Linked DNA regions of Homo sapiens: region 2 is linked to region 1. The links are contacts of gene promoters, found by promoter capture Hi-C in blood cells and fetal thymus (Javierre and others, 2016). All regions are on one chromosome and are shown on one strand. The core of a region is centred on a gene start or on the middle of the fragment in contact, and the rest is flanking DNA. Distances in the headings are between cores, read along the strand shown.

Region 1 (5,701 bases), core at 1,162-3,661:
AGAATTCCCTTCTTGAATGCTGTTTTTGAAGTGCCTTTAGCTCAAAAGAATCCTGATCCCACAGTGGTCTATTTTTGGATGGTATATTCTGCAAACAACACCCCCTTTTTGTCTCCAATCTCTCCTTAATTACTCCTCTAATACAAAACAATAGATTCTTAATATAATATTAAAATGTTTGCACTACTCACAAATACAAAATGCTCAATAAATTTTCTTTCACAAATGAGAATTTCATCCATTCGTTAATTTTTAAATATCAACTGTCAATGAAGAGTTACAGCAGAATCCTTGTTCTGTTGAGGAGGGGGCAAAGAATGTAAGTGAGGGAGTGGAAAATAGCTGGACTGAGCTACCACCCCCTGTCCATCTGATCCTCAGACAGTAATGTAACTTTATTCTTTTATGCTATTCGTCAGACCCAGTACCTCCAACACATTTGTTTCCTACAGATAAAGAAAATATAAAAAGTCAAGCGCTATACATCAGATCCAGCACATCTATAACTGGAAAAAAAATACTTGACCTTCAGCTGGGCCCAGAGCTTGTGAGTAGTCACCTTGGCATAGACCAAGTCCATTGGCATCTCTAACATATCTATACTGTCTGTGGATAACAAATGTCTATGCCAGTTAGAGTCGCTTGTATAAGAGTCAAGAAAAACGAATCATAAAACAAACTGACATATTCATTTTCATAATTTTTAAAATGCAAATATTACTTTATAAACCAAAAACTGCCTTATTAAAAGCTGGAACACAAATGAATTTAAGTAAACGATGCAATTCAAATTTAATCTTTTGTGTGTGTGATTTGTTGTTGTTGACAGTTGGTCAGGCGATTTTAGTATGGTACATCAGTTTACATTCTAGATGTAGGCCAAGAAAGAATGTTAGGTGTAAAAAATATTTATTGTAAAAAAGAATGTGAGGCAAGGTCTTTGGAATTAGTAGTTTTAATGTTGGACATTCTGTGGTTGTTCTAAAGTTAGTCTGTAAAATGTGATGTAAAAGCTATATGATAAAAAAATACAAAATATAAAAATTTTAAAGTAAATATTACTTTTGTTTGCGTACAGTATTCCCATCCCTCTAAATTTTCTTCCAGTACTCAATCCCCAACCTCCAAAACCGAAAAGCAAGATCAACAGAAAGAAAATGGTTAAAACTTGTAAATTCTAGATTTTAATAACTACAGGCAAGAAGTACTGAAAAAAAGAATGTGGCATGTCATGGTGCATAGTCCTAGAGGAGACAAAGCAATGCAACCAGATAGACTATTTACAAGCAAAGCCACACATATAAAAATTCATATATAAGGGATTAAATTATGCTTGGTCGACAGACTGACAGATTTAAAGTGGGTAGCTAGCTATGGATAAAATGAGAGCCAGTTAGATCCCTGCCTCACATTTTGCACCAGAATAAATTTCAGGTTAATGTTAACAGCCAAATGAATTTAACAGTATATATATATATATATATATATATAATATATGAGAAAACCTAGGGGACTATGTATTGAGCTGAGAAAATCTTCCTAAGCATTTTGAGGAAGACACTGGAACTCGCAAGACACAATTTTCTAATCTTTTCAAAGCTTTGCAAAAATGCCTAGTAAGCGCCAGTTAACTACTTACCAGATTTTTCCCTTACTCTTACAAAGTTGTTTAAACAAATGCTAATCATAGCAAGCTAGAGGCCTGAATGATAGTGGACTTACACAGCTTCTCTCCAAATAGCACCTTAATAAGGTCAGAAATAACCTACACTGCAAGACTGACCAAACCGTTATTTCTGTTAATCAACTTTAAGACCATAGTCTAATGCTTTCCGGGGGGGTCCTTAGAAATTTGTTCTGTTAAGACAACAAAAAATTATCACAGCTACTTTCGTTGGAATAAGTGGGTGGCTCTGAAAAGAGCCTTTGGGTTTTAAGACTGATGAAAAAGTGACTTTACATTTACGCTCTTTCTCCGCGAATGCGGCGAGCGAGCTGGATGTCTTTGGGCATAATAGTCACTCGCTTAGCATGGATGGCGCAAAGGTTTGTGTCCTCAAAGAGCCCTACCAAGTAGGCCTCACAAGCCTCCTGCAGCGCCATCACCGCAGAGCTCTGGAAGCGAAGATCGGTCTTGAAGTCTTGGGCGATTTCTCGCACCAGGCGCTGGAACGGCAGCTTCCGAATCAGCAACTCGGTCGACTTTTGGTAGCGGCGGATCTCGCGCAGAGCCACAGTGCCCGGGCGGTAACGGTGAGGCTTTTTCACGCCGCCGGTAGCCGGCGCGCTCTTGCGAGCAGCCTTGGTAGCCAGCTGCTTGCGTGGCGCTTTACCGCCGGTGGATTTCCGAGCTGTCTGTTTAGTACGAGCCATGGCAAAACCACAGAAAAGCTTGCCTGCAGAGACGTCTGTGGAGGAAAGGAAAGAGCTACTCTTCTTTTATAGAGTCAGACCACCAACTATTGGACCCAAGAAAATTCAAAAATCCCCGCGCCCTTCTTGGATTGGTCCATCTCTGTGCCTGGTTGCAGATTAAGAGAGGCTCCTGCCCATTACCGTAGCTACTCTGACGTCATTTTGTTAACCCCTTAGCTGCTATATCCACTGTGGACAAGTCTTGTACTGGAAAAGTTTCCTGAAGTCTTAAAATTTACAACCACACAAAGCAACGCGGAAACCTCCAATTGTTTCTAGTTAAAATATAAAAAAGAAATCAGAGAATATTGGAGACGATTAGGGAAATTTGCATATGCGCTTTATTTAAAATTGTATTTTTCTGGGTGTCGCATAAGAAGTGTGGGCAATTAGAAAAATGCTCTTAGCCGGGCGTGGCGGCTCTCGCCTGTAATCCCAGCTACTCAGAAGGCTGTCAAGAGGATCGCTTGAGCCCGAGTTCGAGGTTACAGTGAGCTGTTATCACGCCGCTGCACTGCAGCTTGGGCGAGAGGGAGACTCCACCCCAAAACAAAGCAAAACATCCCCAAACTGGAAAAAAGCTCATTTTGGGAAATACATACTCAAATGTTCAGTGGTAATGTGTGTGCTCTCAATTGTGTATGCCATTAATTGCTACAGCAAATGGTATGACATATTCAAACTTGTGTGGGGCATGCGGGTTTTAACACTTCCATTCAAGATAGTTAGGAATGCACTCATGGGTATAATTTCCTTCCTCTAAAATGTAGTAACTGCTGTGTGTGAAACTTAACGCGAATCACCCCTGTAAACATGTTTTGTGCTGCATGGCACTTCTCCCACATACCTAGAATTCCTGAGGTTTCTATGGATCTAATTTCTGCAGGACAAATTACTAAAAGTGCCACACTCAAAGCCATTAAAAACACCTCAAAAACATCTTTATGGGCGGCATAATCCAAAGCACAACAGCTCATTTAATGGAAGTCGTAGGTGGCTCTGAAAAGAGCCTTTGCTGTTAGGCTGATTTTGTCTGCTGACAGAAAAACAGCAGTGCATGAAGCGTTAACTCTTCACTTTCCCTTGGCCTTATGATGGCTCTCAGTTTTCTTAGGCAGCAGCACCGCCTGAATATTAGGCAAAACGCCACCCTGCGCGATGGTCACACGCCCCAAGAGTTTATTAAGCTCCTCGTCATTGCGGATGGCCAATTGCAGGTGGCGCGGGATGATGCGGGTCTTCTTGTTGTCGCGGGCCGCATTGCCCGCCAGCTCCAGGATCTCGGCGGTCAGGTACTCAAGCACCGCCGCGAGATACACCGGCGCGCCAGCCCCGACGCGCTCGGAGTAGTTGCCTTTGCGGAGCAGGCGGTGCACTCGGCCCACAGGAAACTGCAAACCTGCACGAGAAGACCGAGTCTTAGCCTTGGCGCGAGCTTTACCGCCTTGTTTGCCGCGACCAGACATAACTACTTCTGATAAGGGAAAATCGCCACAAGAAAATGTAATGAAACTACATTAGAACGCAAGGCAGAGAAGTATTTATACTGACTGGAGGTAGGCTGTGAGGAATTCTCCCATTGGCTAATGTCAAATACCCAATGGGAAATCAGAATCTGCATCCTTCATTTGCATGTAATCCTTCCGTCTGGTGTAAGGTTTATGTTTGACCCAATCCCCAGTCTGGCTTGACGAGCCTTCGACTTGAATACTAATAATAATTGGCCGAATTAGGATTTTGTCAAAATACCTTTTTTAAGCATGAGTGGAGGTTTTGTTCTGGTTATTTTGACTTTCAGCCGCTCGTGCTTTTCCCGGATTGTGACTCATGTTTTTGGAAAGGAGTGGACTCCGACCAATTTCTAAATAGATATTTAAGAGGTCCTTCAAATCGGGCGCAGTGGCTCATGCCCGTAATACCAGCACTTTGGGAGGCCGAGGACGGCGGGTCAGGCGTTCGAGACCAGCGTGGACAACATGGAGAAACCCTGTCTCCAGTAAAATAACCAAAAAAGAAACGGGGGAGAAAAAGAAAAAAAAAAGCCGGGCTTGGTAGTGCACGCCTGTAGTTCCAGTTACTCGAGAAGCTGAGGTGGGAGGATCGCTTGAACCCGAGAGGAGGAGGTTGCAGTGAGTTCACATAGAGCCACCACACTCCAGCGTGGGCGACAGAGCCAGAAGACTGTGTCTCAAAGACAAAAAAAGGGGAGGGGGAGTGGGAGGGAAGAAAAGCGAATACCCCAAATCCCAGTGAACTGTAGAAGCTTATAAGCTCTCTTGATTCATAAGGGAGAAAGAAGGGGGATGTAGGCAACTTAGGGGAGAGTATATGATTTTGGAGAAAAATAAATGGGTGTTTCAAAGAATAGGTGACAGCTGTGACAAAGTCTGTTTAGATGGTGTTAACCACCAGTCTCCTCTCCTGTGATACAGTTAATCTTCTCTGGTTGATGAGATTCCCCAGGGAAGTGAATCTTAACAACTAAATTCCTTTTTGAATTTTTTTTTAATTTTCAAATTTTTGATTAGAGTTCAGCGAAAGCCCTTCCTTGAATTTACTGTTTCCTAGGTGCCCTCAGTTCAAAGAAATCAGCGTAACAAAGTGGCACATTTTTGAGTTGCATTTCCTGAACTTTTTCACAACACTGAATGAGGAGTCTCTGGAATCTTTCAGGAAATGAGAGAACAAACATTCCATAACACAGAAATACTCAAAATGGGATTATGATTATAAAAGTGTTTCACTGACCACCTTCTGCCTTCCTGTCTGTAAGTCCCATTCTCCCCAAAGTCTAGCCATAGAAACCAGAATTCCTCCTCAAGGTAGGCCATACAAACCAGAACTCCTTTTCCCTAGAACCAGCCATAAAACCTAAAAGTATTACTCTAACCTACCTTGTTTGCCTGTAGGTCATAAGACCCCCCATTCTAAAAGAGAGTCTTGTCCTATAACCAGAAGGAAGAAATGCTGCACTGAGAGGTCAAGAAGAATCTTGACAGACAAGCCTTGCGGGGCTTCCCCACTCAGTCTGTTAGCATTAGATCGTACCCTATACAGCTGTTTATCTTGTTGAACCTAAGCATAAAAATGGGCAATTTCCCCTGTATCTTTCAGTCTTAATTCTAAAATCTCCTGTAAAATTGTGATGAAATAAATATATATGCCTTTTCTCCAGTTAATCTGTGTTTTGCCAGTAATTTTCCATAAACCTTGGGAGGGCAAAGGGGAAGTTTTTCCTTGGCCGGGACAATATTATTACAGCCATTGTCTGGCTCTCCTGTTGAGG
Region 2 (5,701 bases), core at 1,285-3,784, 500 kb before region 1:
TTGATTTTGCCATTTCACTCAGGGACATCATCATTCACTGAGGGTTGAACCTTTGGAGTCATCTTGAACTCTTCATTTGCTTTCCCCATCCATTACCCACTAAACCCTGTCCAGTGGCTGCAAAAGATACTTCTTTTGTTTTTATTTATACTACGAGCTCTCTTGCTAAGGTCTTTTTACTAACTACCTTCTACGTCTTTTTTTTTTTTTAACAAGAACTACAAGAACTAGTTTTTTCATTTTATGTGTCTCCTCCTGCTTTCCACAGCCCATGTTCTTTGTATCAGGGAAGCTGAGCCACCGTGAATGTTTATGGGGTAAGGGATTTCTAGAGCTCACAATTGTGGGGAGGAGCTGGGGAAATGACGCTCTGTGCCTTGGACACCATGTTCAACCTCTTAGCCTGCACTGGAGTGCTATACTGTCCTGCCTTAACCCATCATTCCAATCTGATCTCCCACTGTAAGGTGCCTCTGTTCCTAACCAGGAGATAGGAGTCATAGTGTCTGGATGTACCACTGCTTGGGTTTGTTCTTTTGTTTAACGATCCCTTCTGTTTTTCTCAATCCGTACAAATCTTTCAGGACTCAGCTAAAAAAAAAAATAAAAGTTATTTTTAACCTCAGCTAGGTGTGATTCCTCCTTTGGATAAAATTTTTTTAAAAGCTTATATCATTCATTTATCATTGAATAAACAGTTGTAGAAGTCTATGATATGGCAGGCACTATCGTAAGAAACAGGGATTCAGCAGTGAAGAAAATAAAATGTTCATGTCCTTGTGGATATTACATTATGTAGCACTTTATGTCCTGTGTTACTGCTAATTGTGAATATTTCTTCCCACTTCCAGGTTTTTAAGTTGCTGGTGGCAAGGGGTAACCTTTTTCAAGACTGTAGCTCCTCTATGCCAGGTGTCCAGTTTATTTCTCTTGAATGGAATAAAGAAACCAATGTGGAAAATGATAAAATTTTCTATGAATAAGCTGTTTGCTGGAAATAAGAACAGTTGTATCAACTTGTGAGCAACCACAGATGGCATTTATTGCTAATAGTTGTAATTCTTACCCGTGGGTTCAATAGCCCAGTATATCTGAAAAAGCCTAGGTAGTCACCAGCAAGTGTGATATGAGTTAGTGGTGTGATGTAGTTGCCAAAGAAGTCAATTTGACTTGTACCGTATTAATGAAGGTATACTTTCTACAGTAAGGAAGACGATAGCTCTGTTCATCTCAGCTCTGTGCTTTCCAGTCCACTCTTAGTTACAATCCATTTCACTAAGGAGACTTCATGAGGTTCTAGGTGGAAGACAGAATGCAGAAGTGACCTACAGGAAAGGAGGTCAAGGACTGGAGAACTGTGTCAGCGTAGGCATGGGAAAAGGAGCTGGGAATGTTAAACCTGAAGAAAAGAAGGCTAAGGAAGAAAAATAAGTGTATTTAAATATGTGCAGGACTGTCACTAGAAGAGAGCATATGATTGTGCAGAGTGTTCTCAAGGGGAAGATATGGGACCTGCAGGAAGGGTGTAAGAAGACAGATTAAGACTCAAAACCTTATCTAGGAATGACAGGGTACATTTTCTTGGAAGGAATTGAGCTTCATAAACTATGGCCGTCAACAACTTTTCTGTATTGCTTTAGAGAAACTGAACACTATAGGGTTAGGGTGAAGTAGAGAGGTTAAACTAAACAGCCCTAACACAACCATCTTCTATGAGGTCTTCTAACGGGGTAACCCAAGAGATTATAGCCTTTCAGATTGCATCTCCTTTATTTTTCGTATTTATGTACTTGAGAGACGAATTATGAACTGATAAACCCCTTGATTTACTTTTTTCAAAATTTTCAATCTGTACTCTGTGTAATCATTGCATGTCATCTTAAATAGTTTACCTTTTCTGAGCTTTGAGCTCTTTCATGGTAAAGGATCTAAATGTGGTCTGCTGAGCTATGCTCAGAGGAATCTTGGAGACATGAGATTTTATGTCTTCTTTGAATTGAAGAACTTAATTTTGATTGTTCTTTTGCATGACATTTTAAATGTTCTACTTAAAGACCATTTTTGTTGAGTTCATGTAAATCCTCTCCCCTTGGTGAATGCTTAAGGGCATACATTTCAAGTGTCTCTTTGTTCTCTCGTGGTGATTAAAGATACCAACTTTATAGTGCCTCATCCACATGCCTCTCAAATTAGCCTTTTGCAGCCCCAAATGTATATCAGTTTCTTTCTTAGTGTGTGGTTTGTCTCTTGAAATTAGGCATTCATTCTTGGTAAGATATGAATTATTAATGACCCTTTTTGCTTCAGGAGGCACAGATCAATACAATAGTTAGAAGAGTTATGATTTCTATCAATTAAGATTTTAAAAAACTTATAGTTAGCTCTATGCAGGGCATTGTGTAAATGCAGAAAGATATGATTCCTGCCTACAATCAGAGGCAGGAATCATAACTTTCTTGTCTTAGATTTTTAGGGATTTTAGGCAGAGAATTTGATGTGAGAAGCAATATTCATACAACTTCTTTTTCCTAGGGGGATCTCAAGATAATAACGTATGTAACCTCAATATATTTTACAGCAATAGGAGCTGTTTTTATTATACATAAACTTTGGCATTACTGGCCCTTTTTCAACAATAGGTGCTTGAGTGCTGTTATTTTATTGAATTGTCTTCATAACACACTAATAAAGAATGTGCGGTAGATATTATGAACCTGACTTTACAAAGAAAAAGGCAAGAGAGATGGCAGTGCTACAGCAAGTAGACATGGGCTCTGTAATCAGACCTGAAGTCTTCGGAATAGTGTGTAAAGTCTCTATCATTTTGAAATTTATGGGGGAAGAAGGGCAGACTTTAGCTTCCTATCGTTATGATATCAAATAATTCAAAATAGAGAAGTGTGAATTTAACTAAAAAAGAATATTGTTTGTCTCCTCTGCCAAATGAATTATCAGATGGAAGAGGACTCTTGACATGTAAGGCCTTTGAAGAATGAATACTTTTTTTAAGAACATGAAATAAATAGACAACCGGCAGCTCTAACGAAAATATTGGAGACACTTTTAAAACCACACTGTGGTTATCTTTTTCTTCAGACTTCTTGGCTTCCTTCATGCTTTTTTGTATAAGTACAAATATAGAAGAGCATAATCTTAACCTTTCTGAAATATTTTTTGTCTACCATAGAGATCCACCATCTCCCATTGGGTTTTGTGTTTATATCCGTAAAACAATTGAGAATGATTTAGGTGCAATTAAACTGGTAGGGGAGGCATCTTATTGTAATAGAAACTAGATGATATTGACTTCATTACTACCTATGTTAATATAATAAAACCTCAATTTGTTTTTGTTTTTTGGTGGCTCTTAATTTACAAAGAAAAATACTTGATGTAATTGAATCGATTTTTAAAATACCAATTTTTAAGAGATGTTCTGGTTTCTATAGTATTGAGACCAACTGGCTGTTGGGCATCATTTTGTAGTCATTACAACAGTCTCAGTGTTGCACATTTTATTTCTCTGTTTCCTCAGTACCTAACTCTATGTCTAACACATAGAGGGTGCTCACTAAAAGTTAATGAAGGAGTTAGTATCTAGCAAAATGTCACTGAGTGAGGTTCTGAATCATCAAGAAGTGTTCACTTTTGTTCTACGTGCTGCATTTCCTAAGGCAGGAAAGGGAACTGAAATGCCTTCAATTTTTTTCTGGCATTAAAGTTGCCAAAGGTTACTTGCATGAATAAAGTAAATTAATAATTGCTTACAAGCAGCATTCTCAGTGACTCCAGTTAGAAGGGTTTGAGGTTTTCATCCTTGTGCATTCTGTGGTTTGCTGAAGTTTTTTTCATACTCCTTCGTTCTGTGTTTCCTTCTATCTGAATATCGGCTGGGCTGACTTGGATGCTTGCCTTTTTCTGGTTTGGAGCAGATGATTGACAGAATATGTGTGAAAGTACAAGATCATCTCAACTCCTTACGAAATTGTGGGGGAGACGCTATCCAGGAAGATTTAAAATCAGCAGAGCGGCTCATGCGTGATGCTAAGAACTCTAAAACGGTGAGTTTCACTTCAGGCTGTGTGAGAGTCTGGTATAATAAAAACGTTTCATAAAATTTAGTTTTAGAAACCAGTTTCAACTTTCTCTCTCTACCCAATTCCAAGTTTACTAACAAGTGGCAAAGTGAACTGAATTAGCCTTGACCTCCTTTCTGTACCTGTGCTGATTACCAATAATCAAGATATAGAATAAAAAGCAGAGGGCCAGTGTGATTCACAGAGGGTGTGATTGGGCCCTCAACAACTGAGAGGGAGCTGTCGTTTAAATGAGTAACAGCTCATTTAAAATGATTCTGCTTCTAAGCTGATAACATGAAACTCCCCTCTGTTACCCCTAAAAGGAAGCTTCTCTCACGTTAGACTTTGGTTCCCAATGTGTGACTTAGTAGAGTAAGGACTTAACTGTGAGTCAGAAAAACTGGGATCTGGTTTTGGTTCTGCTGCTAGAATCACACAATCACTGAATGTCATTAGTATGAGGAATCTGTAGATCAATCAGATACTCTTGTGATACAATAAGAGATGTATATTTGGTCTTTGTTCCCAGTTCCTGATATGGAGCTTCTAAAACCTTGTAATTTCCTGAGTGATAGGGATGATAGAAGCATCTTTTGTTATAGTATTTGGTCTTTGTCCCTGGTTCCTGAACCAGAGCTTCTAAAACCCCTGTAATTTCCTGAGTGACAGAGATGATAATAGCATCTTTTGTTATTAATAAAAAGCCCCTCTCATCACACCAGAGTTTATCCTAATGAGGTGACTCTTCCTGTGCCCCTAGAAAGTTGCAGGATAGGGGAGGTTGCCAGAGGAACCAGCCACGTTATTAGTGAACTGAATCTGTCAGCCCACCCCCTGGACGCCATGGAAATGGAGAGGGGCTGGAGATTGAATGGACACCAGTGGCCACTGATTTAATCAGTCGTGTCTATGTAATGGGTCCTCCATAAAATCTCTAAACAGTAGGCTTCAGAGAACTTTTGGGTTGATGAACTCATCAACGTGCTGGGAGGGCTGTATACCTGCAGAACTCCCCCGAAGCTCCCCTGACCCCTTACTTCACCCTATACATCTTCTGTTTGGCTCCTCCTGAGCTGTATCTTTTATAATAAACCAGTAATCATAAGTAAAATGCTTGGCTGAGTTCTGTAAGTCATTTTAGCAAATTATGGAACCTGAAAAAGGATTTATGGGAACCCCTTGAATTTAAGGCTTATTGGTTAGAAGTACCAGTAACAACCTGGGACCTGTGAGTGCCATCTGAACTGGGGATAGTCTGGTGGGACTGAGTCCTTCACTTTTGGGATCTCAGGCAAACTCTGGGTAGACAGTGTCAGAATTGAATTGAATAGATTTGTAGGACACCCATTTAGTGTATGCAGAGAACTGGAGACTTGCCTGGTGTGGCAAACACCTACACTTTTGGTGACAGAAGTGTTGTGAGTAAAAGCAGCTCAACTTTCATACCCCAGATGAAGACATTAAGACATGAAGGGGAGCTGGGCATGGTGGTATGTGCCTGTAATCCCAGCTTCTCGGGAGACTGAGACAGGAGAATCGCTTGAACCCGGGAGGCGGAGGTTGCAGTGAGCTGAGATCGCGCCATTGCACTCCAGCCTGGGCAACAAGAGCGAAACTCCATC

What was found. The method cuts DNA at HindIII sites, captures the fragments that hold promoters and counts their contacts. A CHiCAGO score of 5 or more calls a contact.
Region 2: a fragment that was not itself captured here is called in contact with the fragment with the promoter of H3C2 in region 1 in 1 of 17 cell types (erythroblasts); the score reaches 5.2 in erythroblasts.

The regions. Positions count from the first base shown.
Region 1 is chr6:26,029,688-26,035,388 of GRCh38, forward strand. H3C2 (H3 clustered histone 2) reads right to left here and starts at 2,412. Exons shown (of 1, transcript NM_003537.4): 1 at 1,902-2,412. The coding sequence starts at 2,373. The coding sequence ends at 1,963. H2AC4 (H2A clustered histone 4) reads right to left here and starts at 3,931. Exons shown (of 1, transcript NM_003513.3): 1 at 3,405-3,931. The coding sequence starts at 3,881. The coding sequence ends at 3,489. RefSeq lists enhancers at 2,049-2,278, 2,319-2,438, 3,376-4,005, 4,309-4,368, 4,409-4,458 and 1 more and a silencer at 3,789-3,888. The HindIII fragment of the contact is 2,287 bases long and covers 2,390-4,676 here.
Region 2 is chr6:25,533,923-25,539,623 of GRCh38, forward strand. CARMIL1 (capping protein regulator and myosin 1 linker 1) reads left to right here. Exons shown (of 37, transcript NM_017640.6): 25 at 3,933-4,061. Among named protein-coding and RNA genes, the nearest start is that of SCGN, 120 kb to the right of the region's middle. The HindIII fragment of the contact is 3,740 bases long and covers 665-4,404 here.